Linked DNA regions of Homo sapiens: all the other regions are linked to region 5. The links are contacts of gene promoters, found by promoter capture Hi-C in blood cells and fetal thymus (Javierre and others, 2016). All regions are on one chromosome and are shown on one strand. Each heading gives the region's core, a stretch centred on a gene start or on the middle of the fragment in contact. The rest is flanking DNA. Distances are from core to core; before and after follow the strand shown.

What was found. The method cuts DNA at HindIII sites, captures the fragments that hold promoters and counts their contacts. A CHiCAGO score of 5 or more calls a contact.
Region 1: a fragment that was not itself captured here is called in contact with the fragment with the promoter of ACTR3 in region 5 in 1 of 17 cell types (M0 macrophages); the score reaches 5.1 in M0 macrophages.
Region 2: a fragment that was not itself captured here is called in contact with the fragment with the promoter of ACTR3 in region 5 in 1 of 17 cell types (fetal thymus); the score reaches 5.1 in fetal thymus.
Region 3: a fragment that was not itself captured here is called in contact with the fragment with the promoter of ACTR3 in region 5 in 1 of 17 cell types (M0 macrophages); the score reaches 5.0 in M0 macrophages.
Region 4: a contact is called between a fragment that was not itself captured here and the fragment with the promoter of ACTR3 in region 5, in 2 of 17 cell types (fetal thymus and naive CD8 T cells). The highest score is 8.6, in fetal thymus.

The regions. Positions count from the first base shown.
Region 1 is chr2:118,052,363-118,055,062 of GRCh38, reverse strand. The region is part of intron 2 of LOC102723413 (a long non-coding RNA gene); the gene reads right to left. Among named protein-coding and RNA genes, the nearest start is that of INSIG2, 35 kb to the left of the region's middle. The HindIII fragment of the contact is 1,569 bases long and covers 476-2,044 here.
Region 2 is chr2:118,016,973-118,019,672 of GRCh38, reverse strand. No RefSeq gene overlaps it. Among named protein-coding and RNA genes, the nearest start is that of CCDC93, 4.3 kb to the right of the region's middle. The HindIII fragment of the contact is 920 bases long and covers 989-1,908 here.
Region 3 is chr2:118,096,493-118,099,192 of GRCh38, reverse strand. It overlaps INSIG2 (insulin induced gene 2), which reads right to left. Exons shown (of 6, transcript NM_016133.4): 2 at 2,393-2,700. The coding sequence starts at 2,636. Among named protein-coding and RNA genes, the nearest start is that of INSIG2, 9.4 kb to the right of the region's middle. The HindIII fragment of the contact is 829 bases long and covers 965-1,793 here.
Region 4 is chr2:117,819,940-117,822,639 of GRCh38, reverse strand. It overlaps DDX18 (DEAD-box helicase 18), which reads right to left. Exons shown (of 14, transcript NM_006773.4): 4 at 1,344-1,479; 5 at 890-990; 6 at 579-778; 7 at 379-493. Among named protein-coding and RNA genes, the nearest start is that of DDX18, 6.6 kb to the right of the region's middle. RefSeq lists silencers at 1,927-1,996, 2,007-2,056. The HindIII fragment of the contact is 245 bases long and covers 1,328-1,572 here.
Region 5 is chr2:113,888,803-113,891,502 of GRCh38, reverse strand. ACTR3 (actin related protein 3) reads right to left here and starts at 1,414. Exons shown (of 12, transcript NM_005721.5): 1 at 1,180-1,414. The coding sequence starts at 1,223. ACTR3-AS1 (ACTR3 antisense RNA 1) reads left to right here and starts at 511. Exons shown (of 5, transcript NR_110174.1): 1 at 511-610. It overlaps LOC124906071 (a long non-coding RNA gene), which reads left to right and starts at 1,736. Exons shown (of 3, transcript XR_007087205.1): 1 at 1,736-2,700. RefSeq lists enhancers at 474-653, 704-753, 836-1,491, 1,524-1,613, 1,734-2,043 and silencers at 884-1,143, 1,384-1,443. The HindIII fragment of the contact is 5,488 bases long and covers 1-2,700 here.

The DNA of each region.
Region 1 (2,700 bases), core at 11-2,510, 4.2 Mb before region 5:
ATGATAAAACAGAGCTGAGATCACCCAGTATCATTCAAGAGTTTGACATTCTGGTTGCCTTCCTGATAGAAATGTGTCAGCCTATTTCTTGTTTGTTGCACTTGATTTGGGGGTGTTTAGGATCCATTTTTGTTCAGCCACTTAAATGTTGTTCCAAATTCATTAGCATCTGTTTGGATTCCCAGCCACGGATGCCCTGTGGCTGATAATTTAAGTGCAGAATGTCTGTCTCACAGGGCTAAAGGAAGAAAAAGGCCAGTTCTTTTCTTCACCTTAAAACTTCTAACACATATGGAGCATGTTAGGCTTGGCATTAGCTGCTTGCATTAGTTCACACGTAGGTCTGCAAAATAGAACAAACAGATGAACTAGACTGGTAAATAGAGTATATTTCTGTTTATTTGCATTTTCAGATTGGAGTCTTAAATCTAAGAAGTGCAGAGAAAGCAGCATTCTTCTATTTGTTTTAAAAGCTTGATTCTTTCAGTAATAATGTCAGTCGAAGTGACTGAATTTTCATCTCCCTCAACCATTTTCTTCATTCAGAGAAATGAGAATGCATATCATCCATTCAAGGGAAATATAATGCATTATTATAATATGCCTTGGCCTAAGTAGCTAATCACTTTTTATTAACACTTTTTGGCCCAGGGAGTTGGGATTTCTCCAAGCTGACTGTCAGGGTAGGGATTCTGGGAGTCTATATTAGTAATTAGCATTGCAAGATCTTGACTCCTGGGGTGATTCAAATTAATACAAAATAAAAGTGCAAATTTCCAAATAGTGTTGAAAGCCATATCTATTATTAAATTTATGTTATTAAAGCCCTTTCCAGCCAGTATGACAGGAGTCCAAAGCAAAGGATTTCCTTAAATATCTACACGACTCGTCTTGGATTCTTTAAAATTAAATTAAAAAGCATACAATGAAAGATCAAAAGAAATTTCTGTACAATTGAGTTACGCCTTGGCAGTAAAGTTTTCTACCAAACCAAATCCATACAAAGCAATATTAGTTTCATGGTCACAGTTGCTTTTGGACTTTCCTTGATACATTTGGCAGCTATCTTGAGAGCATCCAAAGAACCGCTGGCAACATCAATCACTCATTTCATAAGCAGGCGCTAAGAGGCGACAGGAGGGCGCTTGGCACAATACCATCTCTCCACCATGGAGCCCCTCCCAGGCAGGGAAAAAGGGAAACGGTGCAGCATAGAGACATTATGGAGCACTCGGCTTCGAATAAGGTTCTGCTAATGTGGAAATAACCTGCTTTCTCTAACCATGTCTTTAGCAGACTAAGTGGTTAATTGTTATTGATCAGCTCTGCCCACTGTTCCAATATCAGTCATTATTGAAAATAATCTCAGTATCCTTCATTAAGCATGCATCTGTTTCCATGGGAATGCATTTTAAACACAGAGAGCTACTTGAGTGTTATTGGTTTCACTGGTAGCGCCGGCACCGAGGGCTGTGGTTGCCCAATCTGTCATAGTTAATCAACTCTCATCTCTTAACACTGGCTGCAGTTATCAATGAGGTAAGGATTAATATTCTGGGCGAAGCAGATGATAAATCATTTGTATATAATTAGTGTACAGCAAGGTTACAGCTGACATGAATTTTTATCTTAATTATGAGAGAAATTTGTTCCATTAATTTAATTTAGTTTGCATGAGTGGCTAGACACCTAACAAAGTTAATCTTACACCTGTCATTACAACATTAAGTAGAAAGCCTCGTGTCGAGGCGCTAGTCTCAGATCCTCCCGCAGATGAGGATAATGTTGTTCATCTTGATGTGAAAATAGATGATTGTAGACAGAAGATGTAAAGTCGACTCTTTTTAAAGTTGTCCCAGGGAATTTATGGGAGAATATTGAAGTGGCTCAACTCAAGTTGCTGTGCTTTGGATGCCACAGTCCCCTTGTGAAATTACCTCTCTCCTGCCTTGCAAATCTGGTGGAAGACACTAGATACAAGAAGAGATAGGTTGTTTTTTAAATGTATATATGCTAACTTCAGAGCTTTTGGCCAAATAAAGCTTTGCCTCATGACAAGCTATTGCATTTGTATCAAATGCAATGAATTAAGAAACTTGTGCTAGTTCGAGTTGTCTATTCTAAGTGCTTCATGTTTATAATCGACTAGCAGAATTCCTATAACTCGATCTACTGTACAAATGGTAATTATGCAGACATCCCAAAGGCTTCAGAGTACTGCATAAACCTAAACCCTGTACTAATTATCCAAGTAATCACTGTGTCTGATCAATCATATTTGATTGATAGATTAGATGGGGCTGTTTATGCAGTAGAATGTGATGTTCTTTATTTTCCTAAAGATTAGCTACATATTTGAGATTTTAAAAAGGAAGAAAAGACTTGCTGACTTGGCTTATTTAAAATGGTTTCCTTTATAGACTTACCTTTGTGATAATTGTTTTCCCTTGATGTCTGGCCTGGTGTAGGCAGAAATCTTTAAATGAAAAGGGGTAGGAAGTCACAAAGTTACAATACAAAATCCTTGAAAACAAGACGACCAAGGAACAACTCCAGAATGTGGAAACGGAACTAGAAATGGCATCATGGAAGAGAGGCCCTTTCTGAAACTGCGCATTTGAAATATAAGCTCTGGCTTCCAAAGGAATGGGCCTTTGCATTTAGGAGACCCCAAATAAGCCTGCAGCTGAAATGCTAATT
Region 2 (2,700 bases), core at 199-2,698, 4.1 Mb before region 5:
CCTCATCTCTCACTGTTTTTGTTCATGGCCTGCTGAAGCACACATTTTCACTATATCAAATGGACAGACTATAATGTACCTAACCAGTCCCTTATTATGGGCTATTTAGATGGTTTATAGGTTTTTTTTCTCATCAGTAACATTGTGATGAAGATCTGATATAAGCCCTGAAAGTGGAAGTATCATATCAAAGAAAATTTTTAAGTTCTTAATATATTTTGTCAAATTACTATTGAAATCTTACTTCCTAGTCCCTATAACTCAGTTCCCCCAAACCCCAGGACTCACATCCCAGACACCCCTTCATCCCAAGACCCACATCCCAGATCCTCATACCCCAGGCCCTGCTGCTGAAGTCCTTACTGGTCAGCCTTGTGCTGAAACAAACAAGGAGAGGACTGAGAGCAGGACTGGAAGGGTAATGGGAAACTGTCCAGAACACCTCAGATGCTCCTTCTGCCAGCAATGCTTTCCCCTGAGGCCCTTCTATGGTGTCCTTTTGGGATTTAGGTCTCTCTCAAATGGCACTGCAAAGCCTAATCCTGGCCCCTTCATCTAAAAGTGACTCTGACTCTAGCTATTCTTTATTGCATTACACTGGTTTTTTTTAATTGTTGTTGTTGTAGTTGTCATTGCTTGTTTTTTGGTTTTTGTTTTTTTTGTTGTTGTTGTTGTTAATTGTAGAGACAGGTTTTTGCCATGTTTCCCAGGCTGGTCTTGAACTCCTGGGCTCAAGCAATCTGCCTGCCTCAGCCTCCCAAAGTGCTGGGATTACAGGTGTGAGCCACCACACCCAAACTACACTGTTTTTCCCCCCTTTAATAGCACCTATTTCTACCTGATATTATCTTATTAATTACATGTTTAATTTCTGTCAGTAATTATCTTGTTTGGTGTGTTGACTGCAGTATCTGCAGCATCAGGAACAGTTTCTGGCACAGAGAAACTCTTCTCAAATTGACTGCTTATTGGAATCACCTGTGAAGCTTTGAAAATCCCATTACCTACCCCCGACCAAAAGAAAGAATTGTTTAGTTATTAAATCACTTTACAAAAAAATGTAAATATTATTTTCTCCAGGAGATAGAGAATGTAGCAGATATTCTCAAACATGTTTATTTACTACTGTGTAGTTGGCCCCTTGTTGAATCCTTTTTAATGTAGCTAATAGAGTGTGGTTGTACAAACTATGAAAGTTATTGAAATTCTTTGATAAAACTATCATTTTTGGGGGAAAACGTATTGGAAGAACTCATCCAAGTGTGTGTGTGTACACGCTGTGTTTTTCTAACCTTCAGTCCAGAAGTAGAAGGGGTTTAAATCTGCTTGCACTGCCTGTGCCTCCATTATGTTACTGTAGAAATGTGACATGCTAAATATAGGATGGTGCATTATAAAATTGTACCGCTTGAGAATAGACCAGCATGCCATTAAGAATTTTTAGGAAGAACTCATTTAACCTAAGAGCTCTTTGTTTATGGATTTTGAATTTTATATGCCACTGTGATCTATAAAGAAACAAATCCATAATGAAGTCACTATTCACTACTGTGTTGTATATAAAACAATATGTTCCAAGGCAAAAAATTCAATATTCATGCCTCTCCCTAGCCCAATTAAATCAGGATTGCTAAGGGTGGAATCCAGGTGATTCCAATGTGCAGCCAAGTTTGAGAGCTACTGACATAGAAGAAACTCAGCAATATTTGTTGGATGGATGGATGGATGGATGGATGGTTGGATGGGTGAGCAAAAGAACATGGGGAATGAGAAATTTGGGGCTCTGGTTCTAGCACTCCCTCTAATGTGCTGTGTGACCTCGCTGTGTCACTCTACTTTACTGAACACCCATTGTTGCACTACATGTAGAAGGAATGAGAGAAGCCTGAAGACAGAATAATTAAAGCTTTATAGAAAACTTCCGGCTGGGAGCGGTGGCTCACGCCTGGAATCCTAGCACTTTGGAAGGCCGAGGTGGGCGGATCACGAGGTCAGGAGATCGAGACCATCCTGGCTAACACAGTGAAACCCCGCCTCTAGTAGAAATACAAAAAATTAGCCGGGCGTGGTGGCGGGCGCCTGTAGTCCCAGCTACTCGGGAGGCTGAGGCAGGAGAATGGCGTGAACCCGGGAGGCGGAGCTTGCAGTGAGCCGAGATCGCACCACTGCACTCCAGCCTGGGTGACAGAGCGAGACTCCGTCTCAAAAAAAAAAAAAAAGAAAAAAAAGAAAGAAAACTTCCTCCAGAACAAAGCTAAGCCTAACAGGAAGCTCTTTACTATGTGTATTAGGCCATTCTCCCATTGCTATAAAGAAATACCTGAGACTGGGTAATTTATAAAGAAGAGGTTTAATTAACTCACAGTTCTACAGGCTTTACAGAAAGCATGGCGCCGGCATCTGCTTGGCTTCTGGGGAGGCTTTAGGAAGATTACAATCATGGTGGAAGGTGAAAGGAGAGCAGGCATGTCACATGGTGAAAGCAAGAGCTAGAGAGGATAAGTGCCACACTTTTAAACAGCCAGATCTCGTGATGAGTGACTCAGTGTCAGGAAGACAGCACCAAGAGGATGTTGCTAAACCATTCACAAAAAATCCACCCCAACGAGCCAATCACCTCCCACCAGGCCCCACCTCCAACACTGGCTATTACATTTTGACATGAGATCTGGGTGGGACAAATATCCAAACTATATCACT
Region 3 (2,700 bases), core at 130-2,629, 4.2 Mb before region 5:
ACGCCAACACATATACACAAAAACATATGCATATTACATACACACACAAACTCAAACACACTATGTTTCTTAAATCATTTACTTCTTTTCCCATGATACTTTCCCTAAAATAATGATGCAGGGGATGGCAGAGCAGAGATTTTGAGAGAATCCATTTTCCATCTCTGGCAACTTGGACAAATCTGATATCTTTCACTCTCATCTACTAAACACCATGACTTAACTAACAAAATTGGTAGCAGAATTGGCTGGAATCTAGATTTCCTAATGTCTCTCTACTTTCTTTTGCCCAAGTACCTTATGGTACAAACTGCTTTCAGAAGAAATACTTAAGCAAGAAATGTAAATGCAAATTCCCCAAATGAGGTTAAGTTTGTAAGTGTGACAAACCTAGTGGCTGGGAACAGGAAGGAAAGTAGTGGCTGAACTGTGGTATTAGCATTTGAAATTTTCCTTCCTAAAATGTAAGTTTATGGCAAAAGTGCTGACATTAAAGGGGCAGAAGGACAAGACAGCAGGTGCAGCCCTGTTACTCTTCATAGTGGAGGTACAATGAAACCTCAGTTAAGTTCTCCTGCCCCAGCCCAAATGCACAACACACGCCAGGGAATTCCATCTAGGTCTGGCACCCAGTCTGGAGGCTTGAAAAGTGGCATCCTGAGTAGGGGGAAAAGTGTGAGTAGCTTCCTTTTCCCTTCCCCAGCATGTGACATGTGGACCCAGTCACACCACTCACTGGCTCTGGGACCCTGGGCTCACTGGTTTTCTTTCTTCATCTCAGTGAGTGTCCTCATCTCCCCATAACAGGCACAATGCCAAACATCTCTCTCCCAAAGTTGCTCTACAGAACCCTGGGATTACAGGATGTACCTAGCACATTAGCAGACATTCAATAAACAACAGTTTCCCTTCCCTCTGTTCTATCCTGAAAAGACATGTATGCTCTTCCATGTCCCAAAAAGCTTCTACTGGCAGCCAGACTATACTATAGAAGAAAAGAAACAAAGAACTAGAAAAGTTGTTGAGAAAACGTTTTCTCTTCTGAATTTAAATGAAAGAAAAATGCATGAGGACCAGTACATACAGCAGAGTGATACAATTTAATTTGTTTTTTATTTGGACTATTTTTTGCCTTTTCTCTTGGAGAATGATAACCCTGGGAAACTAAGAATCACTGCCTTCATGACTTCACTTTTAATGTGAACGATGTAATAGTGAGACATCAGTATATAAACACTGAAGCCTTACTACAACAGTGCCCCTCTAACTGTGCAACAGGATTCTATAATTGTCCAGCAAGTTTCACAAGGCCATTCTAACACTTCCGTAAAGCGCAACCTCATCCTTCAACCTCCCGCTCTTGGATGGAAGCCAAGAAGGACATATATTATGTTGCAAGATATTCATTCATATATGTTAAGTATGAGACACCAAATGGGTATTTAAAAAGCAATTTTCTCCTTCAATCAGAATTATCTTCTACCACATGATTATGGTTTCCTTTTATTACTTTATTATTAAAAACAGTATTAATCTATTGGTCTTGGTCATTAGAAAACACTAAAGTGCTATCCATTGTGGAAGTATGGCAGCAATAAAGTATTGTGAAATGCTCTACTCTATGCATTACACACTGCCCACCACCAAAAAAATATCTAAAGTAACTAATAGGATACTAATTTTAAGCAAAGAGAGTCTACCTTATAGATGTCTTTAAATATTTATTATTCTAAGGTACTTATAAAAACAAGATACCAAGGAAAAAAGCATTTACAAAAATACAACATGAAGCTTTAAACTTTAATTATTCAAGTTTTTATTACTTCAGAAACAAGACTACAGCACATGCATCAAACCCTTAAAACCAAATGGTGGTGCTCATCATCCAAATAACTTAAAATAACACTTAGATGAGATGGGTTGAAGAAAGAACAAAATTAAGGGGTTAAATGCTTCATCCCTAAGGGAAACAGGATTGTTTTTCAGAATTAAATGTTAAAAGTTTACAGGACAGATAGAATGAGACAGAAGGGAGTACATACGTTATGAGCCCATTTATATTGCATTCTAGAACAGAGATAAATAATTTATGGCAACAGAAAGCAGATCAGTGGTAGCCTGAGGCTGGGGGTGGGGAATGGACTGCAAGAGGACACGAGAGACTCTGGAGGGTGATGGAAATGTTCCACAGCTGGATTGGCAGTGGTCATGTGACTGTACGCATTTGCCTAAACACATCAAGTTGTTCAATTCAAACGGGTCCAGTGTATTATACCTAAATTATATCTCAATAAATATATTTTCTTTTTTAAAAAGGTTTATTGCTCAGACAACGTCCATACTCATTTACCCTATTTCCTTTCTAAGCATTACAGAAACATCCTACACATACCTGAAGCCGTGCCACAGCATGGGGGTACCCACCATGCAGAAGAAAAGATGCTTGCAATCACATCAGGTGGAAAGAGCGTCACATTTCTCTGAATCTGAAGTAAATTTAACACTAATGCAAGAAATACTCCAATAAAAAATAGCACTACTCCTCGAATCATCAAGTTCACACTCTGGCTAGTGACAGATGAAATATATGGGCCACACTTTTTGGGCCCAGGTGACTCTGTCTCTCCTTCTGCCATGGTTTCATAGGTTCAGAAAGCCGTTAAAAAAAAAAAAATGGAAAGGCTTCCCAGCTGAAAAGCT
Region 4 (2,700 bases), core at 201-2,700, 3.9 Mb before region 5:
TAATGAAGGAAACCATGGTCTTAGTTATAACCAGTTCATAATGTTGCAAGTACTATAACCAAGGTATGTACAAGTAAGGCAAAAAATCTGCGGCTTCTTGGGGGATGTTAGATGAGGTAAGAATGGGCAAGAGGTGGAGGACAGGACCTATGTGAAGACTGCTTAACGTGCCTTATAACTTCTAAAACAGCAAAACTATTATATCAAGTTATAATACATTTGATGCTTGTATTCCAAATTACCTTTCGGGTTAATTGGCACAACTACCTCACTTGGCTATGGTAAAGTTCTGGCATTAGTACAGTTTTTCTATAGGAACAACTCTTATCTACCTCCAACAGATACTTTGCAAACCAAATGCAGATGCTACCTACTTACTTGGCAAAAGTTTAATAATTTGCTTTAATTCCTCTTCAAACCCCACATCCAAGATACGATCAGCTTCATCAATAACCAGACACTGCAGGTTTTTATACATAAATCCTGGGGTATTCTAACAAAACAAAGGACAAAGAACAACCATTAGTTGTCAGTTTATGTTTCATACAAGACAATGAGACAAGCACTACATCTCTTACCTGCATATGGTCCAGCAGACGGCCTGGTGTGGCCACAATGATGTTGATCCCATTACCAAGTTTCTGTGCTTCAGCAGATCTGTTACTGCCACCCATTATCAAGCCATAGGTATGCACGTGGTGAGTCATCAGCTCCTTAAGAACACCAAAGGTTTGCATGGCTAGTTCTCTAGTAGGTGAGAGAATAAGGACTCCTGTTCCTAAAAATGATATATGGTAGAAGTCTAAATGTGGCTGTCACCACTGAGTCCGTAACAGCTACAATAAACCTCTAGTGAAATAATGGCAGAAACAAGCAGATGAACGCTTACCATTCCTGGGCATGAACCTTAACTTAACAATGAGTTCAACTGCAGGGATGAGAAAAGCCAGGGTTTTACCACTGCCTGTTTTTGCAGCTGCTAGAAGATCCCTAAATATTAAAAAGGGAAAGGAGAAAGACATTTAGCCTACTCATTTACGACGTACTACATACACACACCTTAGGCACTACGGCTAGAACATGAACAAGAAACGTCTACAGTGCTGAAATTGATCACCTGGGTTATATACTGAAATCATAAGTCAGAACTGTGCTACAACAGAAGCAGAACACCTTTCGAACACTTTCCTTCAAACATCAGTAATTAACTTAAAGCCTTTAATGTATGCTGGATACATGACCCAACATATAGTACAAAATCAACAGAATATACTGGTATGTTCTTTATCATCTACTAGTTCTAAAAATAGATGCCAATATCTAAGCTTCAATGTTAATCATACCTGCCTTCCAGAAGTGGTCTGATACTTTTATGCTGAATTTCAGTCATGTTTGTAAAACCCATTTCTTTTATTGCCTTCAGAGTGTTTTCATTGACAAGATTACATAGAGAAGCAAACGAAGTATCCTCAAAAGCTCCTAAACAGAAGACAATTTATCATTAGCAAATTTATCTTTTTTTTTAAAAAAGTATTGCTACAGTTGCCTAAATCTATTTTGCTTAGAAAAGCTTCCCGCAGTAAGAAAAGGCTAAACCTTAATTATTCATATGTGATAATATCAAGAAAAAGACCCTATATCTTTCAAGTTTCTCCACTGTTAACGGCTGTGTGAGTTATAGTCCAGAGACCATACTATAACAAAACAAGGGGTAGAGAGGAGGTATAACCAAGGAATTTATATAAAATAAAAATACCAAAACAAGGAAAATAATGAGAGTCCAGAGATAAATGAAATGTTTAAGAAATCTGATATAAAAGTGAAAACATTGAGCATTAATAAAAACTGAGTGTGAAGTCAATAATAAAAAAAAAACCTGTTAATCTCACTCCAACAAGACACAGAAGAGTCAGATACAGCCACAGAATGTTAGGCTGAGCCTACGTATCAAGTAATACAGTGGTGGTTCAGCAGAAGGCATCAAAATCACCTGGGGGTTCCCCATACTCCACATGCCCAGGGTGTAAACCAATCACTCTTGACCTTGGCATTGCTGACATCTGGGCTGAATAATTCTTTGCTGTGAAACACTATCCTGTGCCTTATAAGATATTATGCAGTGTTTCTGACCTCTACTCACCAGATCCCAGCAGACTGCTCCTAGCTCTGAGAACCAAAAATGTCTCCTAGGCTTAGGATGACCAATCTTCTCAGTAGGCTAGGGACAGAGGAGATTCTTGGGATTCAGAACTTTCAGTGCTAAAACTGTTAAAGTTCTGGGCAAACCAGGAAGAGTTACTCTTCTTACTCGGGGGGCGAATTTCCCTGCTCGAGAGCTACTACCAAAACGTTTGCAATTTGGATTAAGCAGGTCTAGGGTTGGGCCTCAACATTTTAACAAACCAACCAACCCAAACCAAATAAACAACTCAAGTAACTCCTAGACATATCTGGTTAGGAGCAGTGAATTCTAGCCTAAACTCAACTTTATAAAGGAACAAAGGCCAAAGGAGGTTAACCTCGTACAGGGCCAATCATTTTCCTATTACAACATAGAATGAGACTCAGAAAAGGACAAACCAAGGAATCCTAGAAGCTGCTAGTGTGCATATAAAATATTTGGTGTCAGGAATGAACAAAAGGAAAAAAACAGGGAACAAAAAGAACTAAAACACCACAAAATAGAAGATAAAGAGAAAA
Region 5 (2,700 bases), core at 165-2,664:
ATCCTGAAGCAGTGATTCTACATAAAAATAAGGGTAGTCTATTCTCTATGCAGTTATGAGTGTGGTACAACTCTCTAAAACGTCTATTAATACAAAATGAACGACCACACTTTAAAGCCACTCTACATTTTCGCAAACTACCCTACATATCTACGAGTAACTATTTGCAACTTAAACACCCTCCTATATACCTCTATACCTTCCTGCTTCCTTCAAGATACCATCACAGAATGAACGAATACAACTTAAATTAGTTTATTTTCCAGGGTGCTTCCTTTCCCCCACTCCATGAAACATAAGTACATTTTTTTAAGTCATATAAATGGACACCAAGCACCGGTAATTCAGTCTCTTTAAAACCTGCTTAAAAGTTCTAGTAAGATGTGCTCAGGTTGGAAACTAAAAACTACCTTATAAGGGTATAAAAGACTGAAAGCAGGAAGCGGCTTTGACAAAACTAAGGAAGTTGCAGCGCGCTTGCTCACTGGGGGACTTTTTTGAGGCTACAGAAGTAACACATGACATCTTTCTCCCTCGAATTAAAATGTGACTTGGTTCACCGGTTAAAACGCAGAGGGAGATGGAAATGACCAGGAGTCGAAAGGAGAAGGTGGGTGGTCAAATGAAAGCCCCACTGTAGGTTCCCATTTTCAGAGTCCGATTCTTCCCTTTCCCCACCCACACCCTGGGCAGAATGTTGTCACAGCGATCTTGTCAAACCTACCAGGAGCGCTTCTCTTTTCTAGCTCCCCTGCCAGGCCAGTCCCCGAGCTCGGCCCCTGGGTCCCCAAACCGACTGGCAAAAACGGGCGCGGAGGGAAAGGAAAGCCGGATGGGTCGGGCCCGGGGACCACCCCCAAGACGACCGTCCCCAGCGCCCTTTGGGCGGCGCTGCCCACCGTAGTGGGGGAAGGGCCGGGAGGGGTCGCGCGGAGAAAGCCGCTGGGAGGGTTGGGGGTTGAATCTCGGGCCCGCGCCCCCGCCCCAGTCCCAGGAGGGAGAAACGAGGGGACCCGCGAGGCCCTGGCTGCGGGCCCCACCCCTCGCTGGCCGGCGGGTCTAGGACTGACAGCCGGCGGCGGCACCTCGCCGCACCATTCATTTCCCGGCCTCCTCCCTCCCCCGCCATCTTCCTTCCTCCGCCTCAGTTTCCCCACCCCCGCCCGTAAGCCCCCTTACCCCGTGCCACAGTCCACCACACAGGCCGGCAGCCGTCCCGCCATCTTCCTCCTCGCCTGCTGCTGCTGCTGCCGCCGTCTGCTCCGTGCTGCTAGGGGCCAGAGATTGGCGGCGGGAGACAAGGGCTATCTGACCATCCACAGCTGGGCCGCCTTCACCGTCCGGGGGGTAGCCGGGAAGCCGAAGCAGTAGCAAGAAAGCAGCAGGCTCGGTCGGCGGCTATCACTTCCGCAACCCAGGCAGGCAGGCAGTCCCCGCCCTGCCCCGCCGCGGCCTCCTCCCCCTCTCTCTTCCCTCCTCCTCACTCCTGCCCCCACCCTACAACTTCTTCCCCTCACGCCGCCTTTCCCCGGGAAGCCAAGATGGCCGCCGGTGCCGACGCCCCGGCCAGGCCAGGCCCAGGCCCCCAGCGCTCCCCCTTCCGCTCCGAGCGGGAGGGGCTAGCGAGCATGCGCAATAAGGTACGTTCGCCTGCCTGGGCTCCGATCCTGAAGTTGGTGAAATCCACTGCGGGTTTTCCAGGAGTGTAGAGGCGGAGAAGTCTATCCGAGCTTCCAGTTCTGCTTCTGAAGCTGGAAGGGGCTTTTCGGTTGTAACCCTTGGGTTAGTTTCAGTTACTTCTTTGCTAGGTTGAGGAAAGGGTGGAAGCGCCTCCTGCAGCCACGAATATCCTCCAGTGCCTGAGAGAAAACGGCCTAATCGAAAACGTCCGCGGCATACATCCATTCTTAAAACTTGAGTGGCTGCTTTTCTGGGTGGAAAAGAGCGGTATCAGACAGGGTGAGCAGTCGGGGAACGGATGAACAAAGACTTGCACCGTGGCCCTGATGCCTTTGTTCCGAGTTCTATTCAGTTGTACTTGTGCGTTGTTACAGGACTTTAGAATGCAGCCCTGCCCCCCAACCCCCACCTCCCAGGGCCGACCTGTGCTCCTAGGAAGGCAAACCTCCCAGGAATATATTCTGCATAACTATACAAATAGGCCTTTATTCAAGGCTTTTGGATTATGACAAAGATTACCCTCAGGAGTAGTAAGATTCTACTAGCAGGATAATAGAAAGGATTAAGGCTCCCCTCCAAAGAAAATTTTTTTAAGTTAGAAACGGAGGCGAGCCGCAGTGGGTCATGCCTGTAATTTCAATGCTTTGGAAGGCCGAGGTGGGAGGATAGGATAGCTTGAGGCTAGGAGTTCGAGACCAGCCTGGGCAACATGGGGAGACCCCCCCCCATCCCTCCAAAAAAGAAAAGAAAACTGGAAAGCCTTAAAGAAACCTTTCAAACTTTAGTGTGTATCAGAATTACCTGAAAGGTTTGTTAAAACAGATTGCTGGGCCATACCCCCAGAATTCTCTGACTGGGCTATCGGAAATAATGCCTGAGAATGTGCATATCTAATAAGTTCCTAGTTCCACTTTAGGACCCTAGAAGGTTAGTATCTTTCCTCTCTACCAGGCTTATCTTAGGATGAACCGTTCGGGGTTTGCTGATGTGAAGCTAAAACAAAAATATTCTTTAAAAGGA